Regions from separate parts of the Homo sapiens genome. Here region 1 is linked to region 2. The links are contacts of gene promoters, found by promoter capture Hi-C in blood cells and fetal thymus (Javierre and others, 2016). All regions are on one chromosome and are shown on one strand. The core of a region is centred on a gene start or on the middle of the fragment in contact, and the rest is flanking DNA. Distances in the headings are between cores, read along the strand shown.

Region 1 (5,177 bases), core at 1,372-3,871, 1.1 Mb after region 2:
CTATTTTTTGCATTGCCAAGCAGCCTGCATATTAAGTAACTTATACACTACTGGGCCCAGGTTCCGAGAAAAAAATATTTTGCTATAAACTCATTCTTGATCTTTCTATGTTAGTGTTGGCTGTCTTATTATTCTTAGCTACATTGAGGGTAAAATAAGTGGCTGGTTTTTCCTACAAATTTGCCAAACCCTGGCTGGAATGCATTGTGTTGTGCTTTCACTAATGGAGTTCTGTGTCACTCACAAGGCACTAATTGAGGCTCTTGGCCTTAAGTAAAACGACACAGGTAAAGAGGTTAAGGGTGTTCTCTGGGAAGGAATTTTTTGACCCTTTCCAATATCAGAACCTGAATCACTCCTTAAAAATGTGCAAGGGAAATGAATGTATTTTCACTCCACCCTCAGAAAATACCAAGTTTCATTGCAACTCAAAAATTCAAGCAGCTAGAACAATGCAAGAACAGTCATTCTAAGTAAATATGTGCCCGTTTACTTTTTTCCTTGTTACAGTTTTCTGATATGCACTCCTGCCTGTGAACTATATTCTAATAATGAGAGGGCAAATCAGGCTTCAAAGACAAAACCTGCCTCCCTAGAATGGAGGAAAATAATACATTCCCCCTCCCACTGTTTCCTATGTAAAATAAAATACAGGCCTAAGATCTACAAATATTATCATTAACATTCTTGATAGGGATAGGAGAACCCAGTAAAATAACTCCATTTGTGAGGACATTGGGGAATTTAGTCTATAATGAGGAACTTTAGAGGCAAGTGAGATTTTAGAATTAAGCAAATGACGGCCAGGTGCAGTGGCTCACGCCTGTAATCCCAACACTTTGGGAAGCTCAGGAGGGAGGATAGCTTGATTCCAGGAGTTGGGGGGGGGGGGGGGGACCAGCCAGGGCAACATAGCAAGATCCCAACTTTAAAAAATCATAATTACAATAAAATATATAATTAAGTGAATGAATTTTTAAAACTTTACTTCCATTCAAGTTCAGAGCCTGGGGGATAAAAGTGTTGTGATAAATGATGCCAGAATTAACTAGCCAAAGTGTGACAATCGCAGTAACTTAATTGGTGCTTATGTGAAGGGAGGCGTGTCCCCACCCTTCACTCTTCTAGGGAGTGGCAGAAATCCCAGAAGAGGAGTTTCGACCTCCCGAGGGAGGAGACAGCGCCGCCCTCTTACCTGCACAGGTGCTCCCGTCGTAGGTCTCGCACACCCACTCATGGCACTCACACAGGGGCCCGAAGAACATGCCCGGCTCAGTCACGTGGCAGATGCAGACGCCGCAGTCGCAGCGGCCCCGGCCGTGGCACAGCGCGGCCCCCGGGGGCTGCCCAGGTGCGCGGCAGCGTCGCTCCGACTCGGCCCGGGACAGCCTGCAGGCGGCGCCCGGCCAGCTCCTGCGCGGGCGACAAGCAACCGGCAGGCCGGGTCAGACGCGGACGCCGCCCCCTGCTCCGAACCCACGTTTCCTCCCCAGTGTCCCCTCCAGGTGCAGACGTACAACCCCAAGAACAGGACGCCTGAGGCCCACATCTCTCTGGGGTCCAAGCGCTGCCTGGAAGGGCTGTATTTTCCCAAGCAAACAGGTATCACCCACCAGAGAAATGACCAGGGCCCAAAATGTGTAATGGGTGACCTGCCCCCGGACACAGGTCCTTCCTCCAGGTGGACAGAGGTGAACTGCCCTGCTCTTTGGTAGTTTATCACTAAATCTTATATGCACATTTAGATTAAATACAAAGTAATCCAAGGTACGGCACTCAGCTGACTTTTCAGTTCTCCTTTAAAAAACGTCCCACTGCTATCTGATGGCCAATGGGCACTTATATTACAGAAGAGAAAACGTGAATCTATAGAAAGAGTTAGACATGCTATGATAGCATCGGGCATAATTTGCATTAAGCAGTCTTTAGGAACTCTACTTTTAAAAAGTTTAGTTTCACTATTGCAGTGTGCCTCACTCAGTCTCTTTCAGGATGATACAAAATGTAACACAGACCTCCTGTTGCTGCCCTTGGGAAACAGATCATTCTGCTTTACATGTTGTGAGAAGATACTGGTACACATAGCATTTTAACTCACAGCAGGAATTCCTCCTGATATGTATTTGCAGAAAAGAAAATTATATTTTTATTCAATGATTGCATTTTTCCAAAGGAAAAGCAAAAGGACAGACATGAGGCAATACACGCTGTAGATATAAGGAGAGGAAAAGGAACAGGTTGAAAACAGTTTATCCCTTGTCCAATTTAATAACAGCTCTTGGCTTAGGGCAGCCATCCTGCAAGCTTGAGCCCTGCCACATAAGCAGGGCAGGTCTGTACTGAAGAATAACAAACCAAACTTACCTCAGAGATGGCGAGAAGCTTTGAGGAACAGCTGACAACCCAGCAAAGAGAAGGGAGGACGCCAGCAGCAAGAAGTTCCTGAAGCCTGGGGGACGCATGCTGAGCTCCTGGGCTGCTCCGGGCGAGCTGCACTTCTGCAAGGTGGGGTTCACCGAGGGAGGCGGCAGGAGGGAGAGGTGCCACCAGCAGATGGCTGGGCAGACGGACCCACGGACACCCAGGCTTGCAGGTCCGGGGCTCCAGCCGGAGTTGCAATTGCGTTGATGAGCTGCCTGCGAGGATTTGGGCAGCGGCACTGCTCTGGGCGGGGTGCTGGTGCCAAACCCCTCAGTGGAGAGTCTAGGCAGGGAAGTAATTAGAAACAGTTGTACAAGCAGATGGTTTATTTTGACATTAAAAAAAAAAAAAGTGTCCTGTTCACAGATTTCAAGTACGGGCCACAGAAATATTTGACAAGAGAATATTTGGACTGGCCGATATTAAAGAAACCTTTAAAATAATCCCTGAGTTGTGGAGAAGGGTGAGGCCAGTGACAGTAGTGGGAACACTTGGGTAGGGAATTACTTTCACCACACGCTTTTAAAGTAGATGCACTCTTTGGAGTTTGGGTTGGGGCCGGGGCAAGGAAATCTGACAAACACAACTTTTTCTTGCATTTATTATCCTTTGATTTAAACTGGATATTTCATTTCTTTAGTCTTTAAAAAGCGTGTCATGCTTCCAGCTGTTTAGGCCAGTAGCTTATCACACCACAATTTGTTGGTGACTTGGACAGTTTAAATTGTAGTTGTCTCAAATTCACCCCATTCTCCCCATATATCAAATGTGAGAAAAGAAAATTAAATGTTTATTTATAGCACAAATTGCACTGAAAAACAATTGGTGTCATTTACTAAGCACCTACTATGTGCCAGTCATTTAGTATGTTTTCTCTAATTATGACAATAATCACACATTTATTTATGCATTAGCAAATGGGGATTTAGCATCTATCAGGTGCCAGGTTTTGTGCAAGACAGAATGAATATAACAGAGAACTAAGGAGACATGATCCCTGCTCTCTCAGAGTCCAATGAGCTAGAAAGACATTAATCAACACAAAACCACAAAAAAAAAGAACAAAGGGTTGCAAGTGCAGTGAGAAGTTACTTCCAGATGAGATACAGGCACTTGATCTAATCAAAGATGGTAGCATCTGAACAAAAAACTGAAAAAAGTATTGAATTAAATTGGGTAGAAATAAGAAGGAGATGGAAGAGAACAGGGAGACATTCTTACTCCCATTTTAAAGATAAAGAAACTGAGGGCAAAGAGGTCAACTGACTTGCTCAAATTCACAGAGGAAGTTAGTCGTATTTCAGCTGAAATCCAAAGTGCATACACTATCCCCTACATTTATGGTCATCTGGGAAAATGTGTAGAGGGTTATATGGAAGGGGGAAAACATTTTTCATTCACCCTAAGAAGAGCACTGTACATGCAATCCTTCCTCATGAAATAGAACCATCCAAGAATCATCTGTGGTCCCAGATCCTTAAAATCAGGGATGAGCCATAATAGGATGGGATTTCTCCCTGTCCTTTATATATAAGTAGGTATAAGGGTAAGACCACCACAACACTAGCCTGCTGGAGCAAGAAGACGATGAAGGTCCTCTAATCATAGTACATTTCTGTTTCTACCCCAATCTCCACCCTGTAATAGGGGAGGTTTTGCATGAGGCCCATCTGTGTGTCCCCCCACCCCCCAACCCCTACCCACACAATTTAACCTTTTTCAAATAGCTGATTTTCTGGCCACACTTAGATACAGGTGTGTACACACTGGTGGAGTCTTCTATTGCAAGGACAGACTGGGGACAGGTATGCACAGTTTTGGGAGGCTGTCTGGACAGGTAATTCTGGGGTCTTGGATAACCAAAGTGCGGCTTAGGAAAAAAGGACACAGGTTCTGAGTTGGCAGGTTCCCTAAGTCACATGAACTGCAGCCTGTGGGGGAAGGGCCTGTCTAAAAGAGACAGAATGGGAATTACTAAGTCAGTTGTTCTTAAAGCGTGGTCCATGGACCTGCAGCAACATCAGCATCATTTGGGAACTTATGGAAATGCAACTTCTCAGGCCCCAACCCCAGCTCTAAGGAATCACAGAGTGCATTTGAATAATATCCCAAGATATCTATTTTTACATAATAATAGCTTGAGAAGTTTGCAAAGCACAGGGCTCAGGGCTGACGCCTGAGGGTGCCTGGATCTAAGAGTGGAATTTCCACCCACCTTTAGTACAAATTCTAGAGTTACATTTTATCCTGCCCACGTGTGATAGTACAAGGACATAGGAACAGGCTTTCCTGTCAACATCTAGAAACCTAGTGACTCAGAGAATGTGGTAATGATAGAAGGGAAGTATCTATTCCAAAGCCCAACTAGGAATTTGCAATAAAAACATGGAAGCTTTAATAAATGAGTCATGTATTGTTTACTCCTTGCATATTTTCTGAGGGAAAATTTATTATGAAATAGGGACTTGATATTTGAACATTTTTAATGGATTTAAGTGATTTTTTAACCTGTAGTATTTTCATACAGTGTAGTATTCAATAAGCAATATTCTCTTTAATATATTATTCACCTTTGAAATGAAGTTAGTATGTACTAGGTAACTGAGAGAATATAAATGTTCAGATCATTACATTACTATGACTCAGAAATAATATTCCCAGTCAGTTGAAATAGTTATATTGTGGCTGACTTGGTGACTCAGTCGAAAGTCTTGGATCCACAGAAACTCTGTCAAAATCAAAGGGTAACTTTAAAT
Region 2 (5,318 bases), core at 1,145-3,644:
TTGCAAGCCACCGTACCCAATTTCTTTTAACTGGCTATGTTTAGGCCAATATCTGAGTCAAGGTTGTTAAAAGAGAAGACTTATGCTTTCATTTTATTTCAATATTTTATCATCTGAATATTTATTACATGCAAATATCTAACATATATTTACCCTCCAAATAGTTGGTGATGAAAGATCCAGCATAAACTTCTATTCACTTATGGTGGGAGCTAAATATTGAGTACACATGGACACAAAGACGGGAACAACAGATACTGGGGATCCCAAAGGGAAGGGGTGGAAATAAGACTGAAACACTACCTACTGGGTACCACGCTCACTACCTGGGTGACAGGATCAATCACACCCCAAACCTTAACATCAGGCAATACCCCCATGTAACAAACCTGTACTTCTACCTTCTGAATCTAAAATAAAAGTTGAAATTATATATACAAAAAAGAATAAATATCATTGCCAAAATAGTTTAATATTTTTCTTGAGCATTTAAAAAAGTCACATGTAATTAGCCAGTCCTCTTATAATCAATTTTCACAACAAGGCTGTGGGGTGAAAATTATTGTTACTTTAGAGAGAGTAACAGAATAATGTGAGAAACAGATCTGGAAATTCTACCAACAAATTCTACCAAGCAGCACTTCTCCAAACTTTTCTGACCCTCTTATTATCCTGACAAAAGAACCGGTGAACCACTTATCCCAGCTGTTTTCCTCCCACTCATCCTATAAAAAGTAAACACACTCCACAGCTGAATGAAAAGCATTATTACTTTGTAATAAAGCCCCAAATGAGTTGATAGCTGTCATTGTTCTAAGTCTTTAAGTTATTAATACAACGACAACTATATAACTCCAGTTACCGGGAGGGAATTCAGTACCTGATCCTCTTCTGATTCACAAAAGATGTGCTGTACTCCAGAGTGGTGCTGAAGAACACACACCAGGAATCAAGATTCCCAGGGGTTTCTAAGCAGATTCGGCCAGACTCCCCCTCGTTACTTCCAAAATGCTACCTCAATAATCAGAAAGCACGATAAAGGATCCAGAAGGGAAGGGACATTGTGGGGAGGAGGATGAGTGTTTAGTGTAGAAAGGAGGATAAGATAGCCAGGGGCTGATCAACGAGAGATCAGCATACAGTAGGATTAGTCAGGGATGCTGGGAGATGGATCTTGAATAACGGTGAAATTTTATTACTGGATTTCAGTAAAGGGTTAAAAGTACAAAAGTTAAACTTTAAAGACTTTAAACAGAATGCTTTTAACGAGAGACAACATACTTTCAAAAAAACTACCTTCTGGTATGATACCTTGAATCTACAGATTTTAAAGTTGCCTAAGGCAAAAAACTAAGTAATTTTTAAAAACCGTCGTATGTTTTCAGGTTTAAAAAAAAAAAAGTCGCATATTTTCATAAGGTCTGAGAAGCTCGCCAAAACCAAACCTAACTGAATTCTCCTTATGTAAACGAAGACTAAGCCACAAGATTCAATGACCCTAAGCAAACACGCTGCAGAAGACCGTTTAAAAATAGAATACACAAAACTACCACAGGAAACAATTCCGGAAGAGGACTGGGTTATCTTCTGGAAACCCAGCTTTCGTGCTTAAAGACAAACTATTCTTCCCCAAACCAAATCTCCCGATCCCTAAACATTAAGTTCTCACATGTCAGTTGCCTATCTGGTGTCTCCACCCCACCCCAATGATAAAAGCTGTAAAATTCTCTTTAAAAACGTCAGGCTGGGACCGGTGTCCGAGGCACGAGGGGTAGGCAGAGGAAGGCGGCGTGGAGGGAAGGAGCCTGGGGGGTCCGGCCTGGCAGCGCCGAAGCGAGAAGGAAGGGGAGTCCCTGGGGCCAAAGGGGGACCCAGGCTTCCCCAGGCAGCCGCGCCGGGCACGCTGCTTTTGTTGAGCTGGGGGGACCACGGCCCAACCTGGGGTCCGGGCCCTCGCCCGCCCAGCGACCCTGGCACTGTGCGCCGTTGAGTCCCCTTGGCGGGCGCCCGTCCCTCCCGCGCCTGGCTCTGACCTCTGCCCACCCCGGTGCTGCCCACCCCGGCCCGGACTCGGCCGCAGAGCGGGGCTTTGGCCTGCCGGGCTCCGAGACTGTGTCCCCACCCGCGTCCCCGGCCGCCCGCGCCCCCGCGCCCGGGCCCTCGGGGGCCGCCTCACCTGCATGCCCGGAGCCCCCGGGTCGACCCCCGTGTCCAGGACTGCGATGAGCACCCCCCGCCCATCATACTCCGGGTAGCGGCAGAGGAAGGAGGCGGCTCCGGTCTCCTTCTTCGGCAGGAGACCGTGAAAAGGGAAGGGCTCCTCAGTCGCAGCGGTGGCCATGGACGCAGGATGGAGGACGAGGAAGCGGCAAACTGCCAGGCTGCGCGCGGACTAGCAGCGCGAGGACACCCGTGCGGCCTCGGGCCGGAGGCGGGGGCGAGGGGCGGGGTCGGCCCGTCTTCCACCAATCCCGGCCTGCCAGGGAGCGGTGGCCAATCACGTGCTGCTACGTAAGCCAACGGCGCCGCTCTCAGGAGCTAGGCCCGAGTATTGCCCGGGCTGCAGTGAAGGGGGAGGAGTCTGAGGACATTACTGGAGGGTTCGGATCTCGAACCTGGGGCCTTGAAGAGGCCCGCGCTTGGGGTTTTTAGGCAACAGCAGGCCTCCAAGCAGAGTCCTGGTGTCCCGGACCGAATCACTCCCCGAGAGACGGGCAAGGAGATGGACCGCCAGCCAGGAATAATGGGAACCCTTCGCTTGGCAAACGATAGTTTCCAAACTTAAGGTTGTGGATGAAACTTTTTGGTGCGGCTGCTGCAGGAGCCCCAGCCCCGGGGTGCTGCTGACCCGAGGCAAGGGAGCCGGCGCACTCACGCTTAGCCGCTAAGGAGTCTGCGGTGTCGGCGAAAGCTCCGGACATGATTTTGGAAGGTCGTAGGTTAAGGGGTGTAGACTTTGGGTTCCCCTGTGTTGTTATGCCCCTTTGATGGGGGTGAGGTGGTGAGGGGGAGCAATAGGGTGGAGACAGGCAATAGTTTCAGTCAACAGGAAGTGGGTTGTTGGTCATTCCGTCGCCTTTGTAGCCAGTAACAAAGCACGAGACTGAAATGGGCCCCTCCTATCCTCTGCTGATCCTTAGCTTCCGGGATTTCTGAAAAACATCTTTTTTTTTCCTCTTACACTGAAGTTTCTGATTGCTCCTTACGGCTGTCCACTCAATTATAGAGCCATAATTTTCAGTTTTCCAGATTCACAGTGCCTGCCGTCAGTTGCTGCAAGCTGCATAGTGGTCCTCTAATGATCTTTATGTCTATGCTCATGCCAGGGTAATCTTAGCCTTTTATTGTGCCGAAGACCCCTTTGGCAATCTGGTGAGGCCTATTTCTCAAGCAGTGTTTTAAAATGCATACAATGAAATAGATAGGATTACCCAGGAAATAAATTATGTTTAAATGCAGTTATCAAAAATACTAAAGGCAATTTTGTTATATAGCAGGAGCTTTACGTGTGTGTGTATAGTTACAGGTGTACTTCTTTTGCATTAAATAACAGGAGCTAGGGCCAAGGCTAATAAACTACCATAACTTCAAAATAGTGAAGAATATAATTATTTGGAGATAGCGGTGAAAACTGCACTACGATGAACTGATTTTTATTGGTGACATAACAGCATAACTACCCTGGTTTTTGCCTACATTCATACTTGATGTGAAAAAAATTAAGAGGTTTGTATCTTTTTTCTACGGAAGTTTTTGAACCCCTTGGATTCTGTCTATGGACACCAAGTTAAGAATACCTGGTATAAAGGAAAGCCTTATGCATGCGGTTTCCAACCCACAGAATTTCAGAGATCCTCCATTAAGTCTCAAAAATTATTCTTATGGCTGTGCAATGGTTTCAGCTGATTCCTTGATCATTTATTCAGTCCATAAGTCTTACACAAGCATGTTCTCTTTAGTGCAGAGGAAAAAGAAAAGTTGAATGTTTTTCTTCTTATTCCCAACTGTTTACATTACCTCTAGAAAAGAATTTCAAATTAACACAGACGAAAACAGAATAACAAACTCGCAGAAGACATTCAGTATAGAGCTTATAGTGATAGAACAGAATGGCTCCCAGTTTCAAGTGAACCATAGTCCAATCACTTCATTTTATAGATGAAGAAACAAAGTTAACTGACTGTCATGGATTACAAAACAGGTTGATGAAAACACGGGATTTGTCTTCTCACAATCTCTCCCCAGTATGTTCTACCACACCATGTGCATGACTTTGCCAGAGTATCACCCAATGAATAAATGGGGAATGAACAGTTTATTATGAAACCTAGGTGGCAGACTTTTTATTAGACTGCCGTAACAATGTTCTTTAGATTTTTCTTTTCCTTTCCTTTTCTTTTTCTTTTTTGACACAGAGTCTCACTCTGTGGCCCAGGCTGGAGTGCAATGTCACAATCTCGGGTAACTGTAACCTCCGCCTCCCGGGTTCAAGCAGTTCTCCTGCCTCAGCCTCCCGAGTAGCTGGGATTACAGGTGCATGCCACCACACCTGGCTAGTTTTTGTATTTTTAGTAGAGACGGGGTTTCGCCATGTTGGCCAGGCTGGTCTTGAACTCCTGACCTTAGGGGATCCACCCACCTCGGCCTCCCAAGGTGCTCAGATTACAGGCATCAGCCACTGCACCCGGCCAGATTTTTCTTTTTTTGCTTACATATCCCATAAACATGTTTTTAAAAAAGTTATGTATCCCTTTGTACAGCTGTAAAATGAAGTCTAAATTTGTCACAATTTTTTTTTTTTTTTTTGAGATGGAGTTTTGCTCTTCTTGCCCAGGCTGGAGTGCAATGGCGGGATCTCGGCTCACTGCAACCTCCACCTCCCGGGGTTCAAGTGATTCTCCTGCCTCAGCCTCCCAAGTAGCTGGGATTACAGGCATGTGCCACCACACCCAGCTAATGTTTGTATTTTTTTAAATAGATACGGGGTTTCTCCATGTTGATGTCAGACTGGTCTCGAACTCCCGACCTCAGGTGATCCACCCGCCTCGGCCCCCCAAAGTGCTGGCATTACAAGCGTGAATCACTGCGCCCGGCCTATCATAAATTTTAAAAATTATAAAGGATGTAATTTCTGGCATAGTATAAATATCGTCATTATTTAATGAAACTTTCACGTTTCTCATGTAAATATACCCAGTTGAGTGTAACTCTGATAGCTACCATCAACTATTTATAAAATATCTGAACACTTAAAAGCAGACATTTTATATCACTATTTCTTCTGGAAACTTTATTTCCATTCTATATGGAATTTTTTC

What was found. Contacts are between HindIII fragments. The CHiCAGO score rates a contact against its expected background, and 5 or more counts as called.
Region 1: the fragment with the promoter of ITGBL1 here is called in contact with the fragment with the promoter of TPP2 in region 2 in 1 of 17 cell types (endothelial precursors); the score reaches 8.0 in endothelial precursors.

What each region holds. Positions count from the first base shown.
Region 1 is chr13:101,450,119-101,455,295 of GRCh38, reverse strand. It overlaps ITGBL1 (integrin subunit beta like 1), which reads right to left and starts at 2,621. Exons shown (of 11, transcript NM_004791.3): 1 at 2,365-2,621; 2 at 1,196-1,413. The coding sequence starts at 2,462. RefSeq lists enhancers at 2,539-3,043, 4,377-5,177. The HindIII fragment of the contact is 2,431 bases long and covers 2,385-4,815 here.
Region 2 is chr13:102,594,062-102,599,379 of GRCh38, reverse strand. TPP2 (tripeptidyl peptidase 2) reads right to left here and starts at 2,394. Exons shown (of 30, transcript NM_001330588.2): 1 at 2,177-2,394. The coding sequence starts at 2,341. It overlaps LOC107984588 (a long non-coding RNA gene), which reads left to right and starts at 2,438. Exons shown (of 2, transcript XR_001749984.3): 1 at 2,438-2,932; 2 at 4,979-5,318. RefSeq lists silencers at 1,881-2,170, 2,331-2,620 and enhancers at 2,691-2,750, 2,801-2,960. The HindIII fragment of the contact is 7,622 bases long and covers 1-5,318 here.